Linked DNA regions of Homo sapiens: all the other regions are linked to region 4. The links are contacts of gene promoters, found by promoter capture Hi-C in blood cells and fetal thymus (Javierre and others, 2016). All regions are on one chromosome and are shown on one strand. The core of a region is centred on a gene start or on the middle of the fragment in contact, and the rest is flanking DNA. Distances in the headings are between cores, read along the strand shown. Region 1 has its middle 68 kb from the start of MAP3K1. Region 2 overlaps LINC01948 (long intergenic non-protein coding RNA 1948). Region 3 has its middle 32 kb from the start of LINC01948. Region 4 holds the start of C5orf67 (chromosome 5 putative open reading frame 67).

Region 1 (2,700 bases), core at 74-2,573, 140 kb before region 4:
AGTCAGAATGGGTGGGACTCCCGCTCTTTCACTGTCTGGTTCTAACTCTATGTTCCATCAAGTCTCAGCGAGGTGCCTCCTGAGGTCTAGGGCCCATAGAATGATTTGCAAGCTCATATGAAACTGCCTCCCTTTATGGATTCTCAAAATGACTGGAAAGGGGTGCACACTTCAGAGGGAGCAGCCAGACACCCTATGGGAGTATTAAAGGACTGGGAAACTGTAAGAACTTTTGAATATATTAATTTTTATCTTTTTTGTTTTACCATTTTAAGTCTTTATACTTTATAGAAATTCAGTTAAGTATTAAAATGTTTAGAATCAAAGGCATGAATTTGAGTCATAGCATAAATATCTGTTGGTAAATGAATCTCTTTTGGTAAGTTATTTACTCTTCTTGAGCTTGTTTGTTACTAAAATGGGGATAATAATACCTATCCAAATTGTTTGAGAGCAAATAAGACAATGTAACAATATCTTCAACATAATAAGCTTCAACAATGTCATACACATTATAATTATTATTATCTTCCCACCTCTATTTTAGGATTCCATGAGGTGGAGACAGGGCCATATTCATTTTTATATCTCCCACAGTGGTGAGCACAATGTCATGATCATTATAGGCACTGAATAAATGTTGGTTAAGATAATTTAAGATAGCTTTAGTAGTACTTTGATTTCTTTAGTGAAAACACCCTGTACAAATTCAAGACATAATAAGAATTACATGCACTTTAGATCATACTTTTGATTTTTCTATCAATAGTGTTTTGGGAGTTGGCAGAGCAGTGTTGGATTCTTATCAAGTCAACTCTGCTTGCTGAGGACTCTTTGTGAGTCTGTGGAAAGCTTAATGCAAGATGGTAAGCTGGGGCTGGGGATTAGTGGAGTGAAACCAATGAGATGTCAGCCATACATCTGAAATCTTGACCTCATTATCACAATGCTGTGATGAGGTGCTCAACAGTTGTCAATAATTCAAATATACATAATGAGGTAAACACCTGGGCAAGAGATGGAGGGTTCAGTAACAATGATGGCAGTAAGCAATGGCAGAAATATCAGTGTTCCAATAAAACATTTTACCCAATAGAAATGTTCTCTGCACTACAAGAAGCTTCTTAATATCATTTATACCTTTAATTGAATTAGGACTTAAGAACATTGGGGCTTGGGCTATGGTTCCGTCAGAATATATTTAGTACTGTAAATCAGGAGCCAAGAGAAACTCTTCTTACAGAACAAAGACAGGGAAAAGGCAACTGAGGTCACAGACCAATTCAAAATAGCAATTTTTTTCTATAAGTATTAAATTAGAGAACACTTTCTATAATACTCATATAGATTCAACAATCAAATTGAAAGAAATTAAAAGCTCTTCTTCCAAGCATTTATTAAAGGTGGTATCTACAGACCGCTGTGTAGGATAGGATGAGTCAACTAATACTCAATATTTATAAGAAGAACACAGTGCATATTTAGAATATATTCCTGTAACTAAAAGGCACCATGGAAAAGCTTTCCTGGTAAACTTTCACTTATTTTCTTTCTAGTTGCTGACTGATAATTTATTCATCATTCACTGTCACGATCACTCCTTAACTAACATCCCAGATGTTATCAGCAATAAGACTGAAAAAATTAGACTAATTTTTATTTTTGGGGGCTGTAGTGGGAGGTGGTGGTAGATAGGAAGGTAGGATATGAGCCTGGGTCCTCAAATTCCCCAGAATCGCTGGCCTAGGAAAAAACACATTGGGCAGAGAGTATTCAACTTTTACATTCGTCCACTGATTTAAGCCGTCACCTAAACCTTGGGTGCCTCAATTTCTTCATCTATAAAGTGGAATTACTTACAAATGTTAATAATATTACATTACAGATAAAATCATGTAGGGTATGCAGAAGAACTTTTTCACAGAGTCCCTTAAGTATTTTCTATACACAACACAAAAGACTTTGGATGACCCCTACTCCAGCTGTTGCTTCTTGTTACCAAAATAGCAACAAAGATCTCATCAGAATCAATGGAAAGAGAGATGCCACTTCTCAATAATAGGAGTTGTTAAAAATATAAAATAAGTGATTCACACCAAAAATAAAAATTGTAAGGTTGTACTCTGAACATGAATTCTTGGAGCCAAATTATGAGATGTTTATTGGAGATCTGGGAGTCCAATTTTGGGATGGAAAGGGACGAGCTGCTAATTAGTGCCTCTCTTGTAACCTCATGGTCAGTATGGGACTGGGGCATGGAGGTATGTGCTGAAAGGGATCTGGGGGAAAGAGAAAGATGCTGACAAAGAAGTCCTGCCAACTAAGCCACAGAGACAGGGAGGGGCCTTCAGTGGCCTCTGGCATAACAATGTCCTCATTGGAAATACCCAACTCACAGATGCCAACAACCTCTGCTCAAGCTCCCTCTTGCCTCAGGCCACCTAAAATGCCAGATATCAGGCCCTTCTTTCCTCCCAGTGGCTCCTGGCATTTCTAATGCCTGCCAGGTGTAGGGATTGGGCACTGGCTCCGAATCAACTAAGTCAGGTCTGTCATGGAAACTTCCTGGGTCCTTCCAATTATATCTGCCTGAGCTCCTGCTGCAGCTCCCCTCTCCTCACACTGATGGTTAGTATCATCTACCATGTGATGACATACAGGAGGAACAATACAATTTTTCAAGTGAAAATGGCATTTCAA
Region 2 (2,700 bases), core at 55-2,554, 140 kb after region 4:
GTTTTACCCACATTCCGCTATCAAATGGTTCCTGGCCCCATAAAAATAATCAAGAAAGCTCATGTTGGTGGCTTTTGCCATAGGAGTCTGATTTTTGATGCCATTATTTTTCATGCATATAAAACTAATATTTTAAGTCTTCTGTGCTTTGTTCTGTTCTTTTGGTCTGGAAGAACGTGCTTCAGAGTTGCACTTAGCCTAGAACATGGCCTGACCTCTATGGTATGAATAAATGAGCTCCATGAAGACAATAAGATCTCCTGAAATTATACAGGTATGTGCATACATATACATATATGTGTGTCTATGTATGTGTAGATATATGTGTGTAATATTATATTTAAATAATCTACTTTTTCAAAAGTTCCCTTAAGCTACTCCATGTGATTTTATGATAATTTTGTTTGGTTATATTCTATTTATCTTCATTGCTTTCTGACTTCATTGCCATTCTGTCCATATTGCTGCTCAAAGCAGAATTTTAAGAACACCTCGAGGTGTTTTTAAATTAAGCCAGTAAACAGCTTTAGCCAACACCTCCATGGCACAGTGACAAAAGCCAACACAAACAGGGAGCGGGAGGTTTGCTGACAGCTCTGTGCACTGAGACCTCAGGACTGGTTTGGTGAGGCAGGCTCAAGCAGTGACTCGTGGGGGAGCCAAAGAAGACTCAATCATGTTGTCTCTTGTATCAGCTCCCTCCACAAGGAACGGAAATCTACAAGAGGCTGAGTCCTCCTTTAATCAAAGCAAGAGAAGAAGCACTCAGGACGGGGTGGGATGCATGTCTTCAGACACTGACTCAGCCCCTCCTGTATAAGGTCTCACTGCTGCAGCAGGGCTGGGTCCACATATCTCCTTCTGTGTTTGGTGTCCCAGAGCCGTGCTTAGAACTCCAACATTACCCTGTGTGTTCATGGTGATGACGAGATTCCCAAGCACAGTGACTTAAATAAGAGAACTGTACTTCCTTCTATATAAGCTCAGGTGTACTGTCCAGGGGTGGCTGGTACCCTATGTTGTTGGGGATCCTGCTCATGTAAAGTACCTAGCACCAACAAATGCTCTTCAGTTATCATAAGCCTTAAAAACCTAGGAGAGTTTGCGGGAAAACAAGGAAAGAGAGAAGATAAAAGCATGCGTTGCGGAGGGCATTGCCAATGTGCTGTAACACATATGCTAAGGCTCCATAGAGCCTGTGAGCCTGGGCAAGTGACTTAACCTCTCTGTGCCACATCTATAAAATGGTGATAACAAGACCTATCTTGTAGGCTTGTTGTGAGCATCTCACACGTTAACACATGCAAAGTGCTTACAGCAGTGCCCAGACCACATTCAGAACCTAATAGCAGGCCCTGTTGGTGCCCTACCAGTACCTGTGGCTACTTCCCATTTTGTGCACTCCAGATGGCCTTGTACTGTAAGAATTTGTGAGTCTGCCTCTAGGCTCCCCCTGGCCTCCTGAGAGTGTGCTCTGCATATGCAGGCTTGGCCATAAGGGCTGAAAAGGCAATCGACAGCAAGCAGCCCTCAACCAGGATGGGATTTGGTGTGTAAATACCTCGGCTTTCTCATCCCTTGGGTGAGACAACTTGGCAGCATGTTCTGAATCGCCACACAGAGGTCTCCAGGGTGACTGAGCCCCAAGTGTCCGCATTCATAACCTGTCCCTGTCATATCCTGTCTGCTTCCCTGTCGTCCTTGGTTCATTTCTGCACTCTCCTGGTCTTACTGGGATTACTCCCCAAATTAACTTCCTGTATTCAGGACCAACTTCTGGGAAACCCAAACTAAGACACTCTTCTCCTTACTACACACTCCTTTCTGAACATATTGGCCTTAGTGTGCGTTCTGAATGATCCTGCCAGAACCTCACTCTCCCCTTTTCATGCACCTCCTCCTCCTGATATTCCTCTTCTCACTTTTGCAATCACGTATGCACCAGGATGAATCAGATGCAGACTTCTGTGCCCTTCATAAACCAATCTTCCAAGCATACATGCACACTGATACATACATGTACTGATACATTCCAAGCATACATGCACACTGATACATACAGAGAAACCCATGGAATCCAGGCCCAAAGGAAATGGAATGTGTAGCAAAGAATATACATTGTCTCTGGGCTTGCTCTCTCGCCTAACTTCCTTCAGGCTTGTTCTGATTTCCCCTGGGGCCTGCACATATGGTGTATTGCTTAGATTTGTGCCTGGGTTCGGACTGCACATTAAATCAGAGACGTGGGGTAGAATCAGGTCCACAGCTCTATATCCTGTTGTGATGGATAAGCGTTCTCTTTCCATTTCCTCCCCTGGGCAGGGAGATGATGGAAGTGTTTTGCATGAAGACAGGAAATATCTTCAGTACGGCTTTGTGAGCTAGATGGAATTATCCTAAAAGAGCAGGTCCACTGGGTGAGGAGAGATGTGTGGGCTGAGTTTTCAACTGAATGATTAAACAATAGTGCTTGCTGTGGCCACACCCTGCTAGTTTACACAATGGAAAAAAACAACTTGACAAAATAAAATCCATGTCGTCGTCTTTAAAATGTGCTATCATTTCCTTGTTATAGTTGTGCAAGATTCAGTACCGAGAAGCAGATAGTTCTTCCTTTGCCAATATGGGAAACATACTGCAAACATATTGGGCTTCCAATATGTTTGAATTTCAATCATGACCCTTTAGTCAGTTTAGTTA
Region 3 (2,700 bases), core at 185-2,684, 160 kb after region 4:
GTCCATGCCACTTATTGTCCATTTGGCCTTGGGAAAATCCGATGCTGTGATCTGGTTTCTCTCCCTGTAAAGAAGACATAACAATACCTTGCTACCTTACCAGGGTGTTGTGTGAATTTGCTGACACCCATAAAGCTCCCTGAAAATGAAGAAGCTTACATAAGTCCCTGGTATTATTCACACAGCAAACGTTTTCCCCTGAGAATAAAGTAATAAATGGTACCATTGTGCAGCTGGTGGAACGTGTTCAAAAGTTTCCGTTCACAACTAGTAGATCAAGTTGTGGGTGGCTGTATGGACTTTCTGTGCTCATGCCAAGCTTCATCCAAAACAGCCAGCACGACAGGCTATCTCGGAATGAAAAGCTGTACTGTAAGAGACGGCCAGATCATGGCATCGTATCACACAGGACAATCACGTGTAGCCAGAGACTACATAGGCACTTTTCCTCACAGCAGGAAAGGAACAATGGCAGAAACATTGGCCATATGGATTTCTAACATGGCAGCCTTTGAGAAGCAACTACCTTCTTCCAGCACGTTGACATACTTCCCAAGGCTAAAGATGCTCATGATTGTGAAGAATTATAGCTTTCTCTCTGCATTCATGGAGAAAAGCAGAGTTCTAAATCAGATAGAGTGTTCAGGTGAAAATCTATTCTCTTTAAATACAATTCATCTGGGTGGGAGTGTGTGGGAATTGTTTGGACAGAATGCTACTGGCTGGCATAGGATACAGGAGAGCATTTCTTTCTCACCATTATAAGCCCTGGAAATACCCCAGCACATGATATAGGGAAAATGTCTTTTCTCTTTTAGCAAGGTTTGGGACTCCCAGCCTTTGGATGTCACATCGAGAAGATGACAGATATTTTTAATTGAATGAGAGGAAGATTAGCTACTGAAGATTTTTTAAATGATCATGTTTGATTAGAGTTACTTGGGAATTAGACTAATAAGCTCACAGCTGGTCAGAGGGGATCAAGGTACTCCTTCAGTGGTAAATATTCTCATATTAAAAAGCTGAGGCAGGATTACACAATCATGGAATTTTTGAGCTGCCATTGATTTACCTGGATATTAAACTATTTGGTAACTTTGCAAATTCCATGGACGTGCTAACATTTTTTCCCTCTTTCTTTCCAGTGGCAACAATGGGCAAAACCTTGAAGAAAGTTAATGAGCTTAAGACAGCAAAAGTGGAAAAAAAAATCTCTCTAGGTGTTTAATATTTGAAGCTGGTAAAATCTTTAGACTGTAACGCAAAGGCTATGAAGAAGTATTGTACCACCCACAGGGTGCCTCAGGCTCCCTCTCCCCTCTCGCTTCCACATGCCTGTCACATTCTATTTTCAGGGAATCTTTCATTCATTCTTTCAGTGCCTATTTATTTGGCACCTGCTATGGTACTAGGCAGTGTGCTACGTGCTAGAGGTACAAACAGATGAAATACACAGTCACTATCCTCATGGTGCCCCTCACCTAGTGAAGAATGTGGTGACAAGCATCATGATGGAATCGAGGTCAGAGCCAAAATAACTGAAGAGAATTTCCTGGTGATGCCTTGCTTCAGGCCCTAATATCCAGGGTCCAGGCACCTTTTCTTCCTGGAATGGCTTCTGCTACATGTGTCAGGAGAACCACGGCCTGGGAGAGAATCACATGGTTGCTTCTAGGTTCAAATGAGCTGCAGTCACTTCCCCAGAGGATGTAGAGCAGCATAAGCCTGCTGGGCAGAGGGGGGGTCCAGGTCCCACTCTCTTGTATCCGGGGAAGCACACAAAGGGTCTGGAGGACACTGCATGAATGTTTCTGCGTGACTGGACCCATCTGCAGGCAATTTAACAGTTGCCAAAGTTTCTTCATCAGTGTGCAGTCTGGAGCACCCAAAGACTGGGCAGGGCTGATCTGCGGTGACCAAGTTCAGAGGCACAGGAAGGCACAGTTTGCCTGAACAATGCTGAGCGTGCTTGCAAGCCTGAGAGATGCAATTATTTGAACGCTATTATATGCTGGCCTTCCGGTGAGCTTCAAGGGAGCAGACACTAAGGTCTCTGTTGCACTCTCTGAGCCTCAGGCCACAGGCTGCCTGTGCCTTTCATGTTCCTTCAGTGGCCAAGGGCAGGTCATCTGGGAAATGAAGGGATGTGAGGCAGAGATGATTCTAGGAGAGGGTGGTGCATTTCCCATTTTGTTCCCAAAGTTTGGGTTCTTCCTTTAGCAGTTTCACAGTAGACCCAGTTAGTGATACCATGTCCAGCCCTTCTCTTCTTATCGATCTTGCTCAGGGCAGCAATGTGCCCAGTTACCTACTTGCTTTCCTAGTTTCTCTCACTGCTGCTGGTAGCTTGTGCCATAACCCAAGCCAAATAGATATAAACTAAAGTCAGCTTGGGACTCCTGAGAAAGTTTTGCTTATGTGATAAAGAGGGCCCATGTGTCTGGCACTACTCTTCCCCAATTTCTTTTTGCCTTGGACATGGACATGATGTCTGGAAAGCAGCAGCCATCATGTAGCCATGAGGCAACAAAGATGAAGACAAAGCTTAGACTGGAAGGGAGGTAAAGTAGAAAGAGCCATTCATTTATTTATTCAACTAGTATTTATTGAGTGTCTGTTATGTGCCAGGCACTGTTCTAGTTGCTAGAGACACAGCAGTGAAAAAAGCACACAAAATCCCTGCCTCCTTGGTGTTTATTT
Region 4 (2,700 bases), core at 36-2,535:
CAAATGAGAACAGATTTCAAATGCATAGTTGAACGTGGAGCAGGAAGAACATCTTGCTCTTGTGACTTGGTTTTAAACGTTGCATCTAGAAGATGGGGTGATACTGAAAGATGTCACTTATTTCCTTTTGTGAATTGAGATAAAATGGTTCTAATTCTTTCACTGCTTTCTGGCTTTAGGGCCCTGCGAAAGAATGTTTATTCTTTTGCTCTTGGTGGGAATTGGATGTCTGTCGATTTAGCATATGTTTAAAATATTTTAGCTTTGGAAAACTGCCCTGATAGCCTTCTCCCTCTAGTCAAAATTAATCTCATCTTCCCGCAGCTCTCACAGCCAGTGATTCATGGCTCTAATACAGCCCTTCTCATATTCTTCTTTATTCTATAAAGACTTACTTTTCTATAAAGACTTTTATTTCTGTTTGTCTCTTACATCAAATTGAAAGTTCTGTGTGGAGAAGAACTCTGTCTTACACATCTTTGTGATTACCTGAGTCTAGTCTGGTACATTATATTTGGCAGCATTCAGTACGTATTACATTGAATCTGGAAGATCACACAGAGAGGGGGATTCTGAGGGGTGGCAACAACCACTTTTGTAGCAGACGCTGTTGGTGTCCAACCCATGTCCCCTTGGCCACCCCAGAGTTTGGCTGTAGTCACATGCTGTGTAGACAGACAACCTCCTGCTTCTCTCTGCCTGAGGGCATTCTTCAGCCATAGAAATGAGCTTGGAAGCGGCTGGGTATGGTGGCTCACACCTGTAATCCCAGCACTTTGGGAGGCCGAGGCAGGCGGATCACAAGGTCAGGAGTTCAAGACCAGCCTGGCCAATATAGTGAAACCCCATCTCTACTAAAAACACAACAAATTAGCTGGGTGTGGTGGCGGGCACCTGTTATCCCAGCTACTCAGGAGGCTGAGGCAGAAGAATCACTTGAACCCAGGAGGCAGAGGTTGCAGTGAGCCGAGATCGCACCATTGCACTCCAACGTGGGCAACAGTGCAAGACTCCATCTCAAAAAAAAAAAAAGACAAAAGGAAAAAAGAAAAAAGAAATGAGCTTGGAAGCACACAGGTTAGTCTGCAAGTGCCAGGGAATTATTGCCCAAGGAATGACCCTTGGCCAAAGAGGGAAAGTCCTGGCTGGATAAATAATCCAAAGTCCTTGCCCTCATTCCAAGGAATGTTCTGCAGTCTCCTAAGGGTTTCCTGCTAGAGGAAGCCCTGATTGCCCAAAGCTTCTTAACACATTCTTTATTAGCTTTCCTCTCTTCCCTGTTTCATATTCCCTGTGCTCCCCTGGGATCAACAGCCAAATGAACAACTTCACCTGAGCCCTTACCTCCAAGGAAGTGCCACAGGGGAACCCAAAGGCCCTTAATCATTAAAAAAAACTTTAGAGATGCTGGCTGAGCCATCAGTGAGAACATGGATGCATACACAGAACCTACATCTTGTCATCTCTGCTCTTCGAGGAATGGAGCTGGAGAGGCAGAGAAGCAATGAAGCCGAATTCTGTGAGTGGGACTTCTGCGCAGCGGGGGAGGGAATTTCTACTTCTGGCCAGGAAATAGAGCTGGTGCCTTGTAGAAAGGCTCGAGGTAATGCAGTCAAAGGGCAAGCTTAGAGCAGTATGTGAAGGAATCCACCAAGGATTAGAACCAGCCAAGGGTCAGACAAACCAAATGAGACCAGAAGAGGAAAGTGGTGTCTTGGCAGAAAGGGCTTCCAGACCCATAGTCACAGGAATCTTCAGGAGAGGGGTGAAGAAGAAGGCATGGATCGCCAGGCCCAGGAGAGTCTAAAGCTGGTTTGGTGGGGAAGAATTTGGCCACATCTGTGCAGGATCCTAGAGAGTGGGGCAGAGGAGCTGGGCATCTGCTGTCAATGAGGCCAATTAAGAACAGTCTCAGGCTTGGGTCTCAAGCCTCAGGGATCTAGAACTTATCTGGTTTTAGCTGCTCTATATTCATTTCTTAGGAAGAGAGAGAGAGAGAGTATGTGTGTGTGTGTCTGTGTCTGTGTATATGTGTGAAATTTCTCTCAACTGAAACACAGGGCAGAACACTAGATGAAACTAGTGCTGTACTTTTCTGCTTATCTGTCGACACAGTCTTAGTGCGCAAAGTCTTGGTCTTAGTGGCTGGGTGTGGCAGTTTCCCAGAGGTGGGGGGCAGTAATAAAGAGAGAGAAAGGGAGACCTGATAGAAGATGGAGACCAGATAGAAGGCATCTGCTACGTGCATAGGTGCCCCTTTCTGAACAAGCTGTTTTTTGGTTACGAGATCCATTCCTGAAATCGATTTTAAGATATTCTGTGTTGGGTGATGTCACAGAAGCACTACTGGTGCACGGATTTGAAAAATAGTGGCTCATCCCGCCTCAGGGTTTGACAGCTTGGTAACTTGCAGTGAGGTTTCTTTTAACAATGAAACCAAGTCCTTTGAAAGACAAAAAAAGAACAAAACATCCACTAATTTTTGCGTGCAGGAGTAAGACAACAGTATTGGGAGATCTCAGCTATAAATGTGCCAGCTCTGGGAACTTTGGTTAAGTCATTTCACCATTCGCCTGTTTCCTCACCTATAACCAAGGAGGCAGCCAAGCCATCCCTAGTATTTCCTGGAATTCTGAGATCCTAAGTCAGATTGTTGAGTCTGGAGAGGCTGGATTCAGTGATTGACTAGGAGGGGCCTGT

The links. The method cuts DNA at HindIII sites, captures the fragments that hold promoters and counts their contacts. A CHiCAGO score of 5 or more calls a contact.
Region 1: a contact is called between a fragment that was not itself captured here and the fragment with the promoter of C5orf67 in region 4, in 2 of 17 cell types (total B cells and naive B cells). The highest score is 8.4, in total B cells.
Region 2: a contact is called between a fragment that was not itself captured here and the fragment with the promoter of C5orf67 in region 4, in 3 of 17 cell types (total B cells, naive B cells and neutrophils). The highest score is 6.7, in total B cells.
Region 3: a contact is called between a fragment that was not itself captured here and the fragment with the promoter of C5orf67 in region 4, in 3 of 17 cell types (total B cells, naive B cells and neutrophils). The highest score is 10.6, in total B cells.

Annotation. Positions count from the first base shown.
Region 1 is chr5:56,746,414-56,749,113 of GRCh38, reverse strand. No RefSeq gene overlaps it. Among named protein-coding and RNA genes, the nearest start is that of MAP3K1, 68 kb to the left of the region's middle. The HindIII fragment of the contact is 401 bases long and covers 1,123-1,523 here.
Region 2 is chr5:56,465,286-56,467,985 of GRCh38, reverse strand. LINC01948 (long intergenic non-protein coding RNA 1948) reads left to right here. Exons shown (of 5, transcript NR_104664.1): 2 at 174-274. Among named protein-coding and RNA genes, the nearest start is that of LINC01948, 15 kb to the left of the region's middle. The HindIII fragment of the contact is 6,555 bases long and covers 1-2,700 here.
Region 3 is chr5:56,448,546-56,451,245 of GRCh38, reverse strand. No RefSeq gene overlaps it. Among named protein-coding and RNA genes, the nearest start is that of LINC01948, 32 kb to the left of the region's middle. The HindIII fragment of the contact is 2,225 bases long and covers 322-2,546 here.
Region 4 is chr5:56,604,841-56,607,540 of GRCh38, reverse strand. C5orf67 (chromosome 5 putative open reading frame 67) reads left to right here and starts at 1,285. Exons shown (of 6, transcript NR_161255.1): 1 at 1,285-1,519. The HindIII fragment of the contact is 384 bases long and covers 1,243-1,626 here.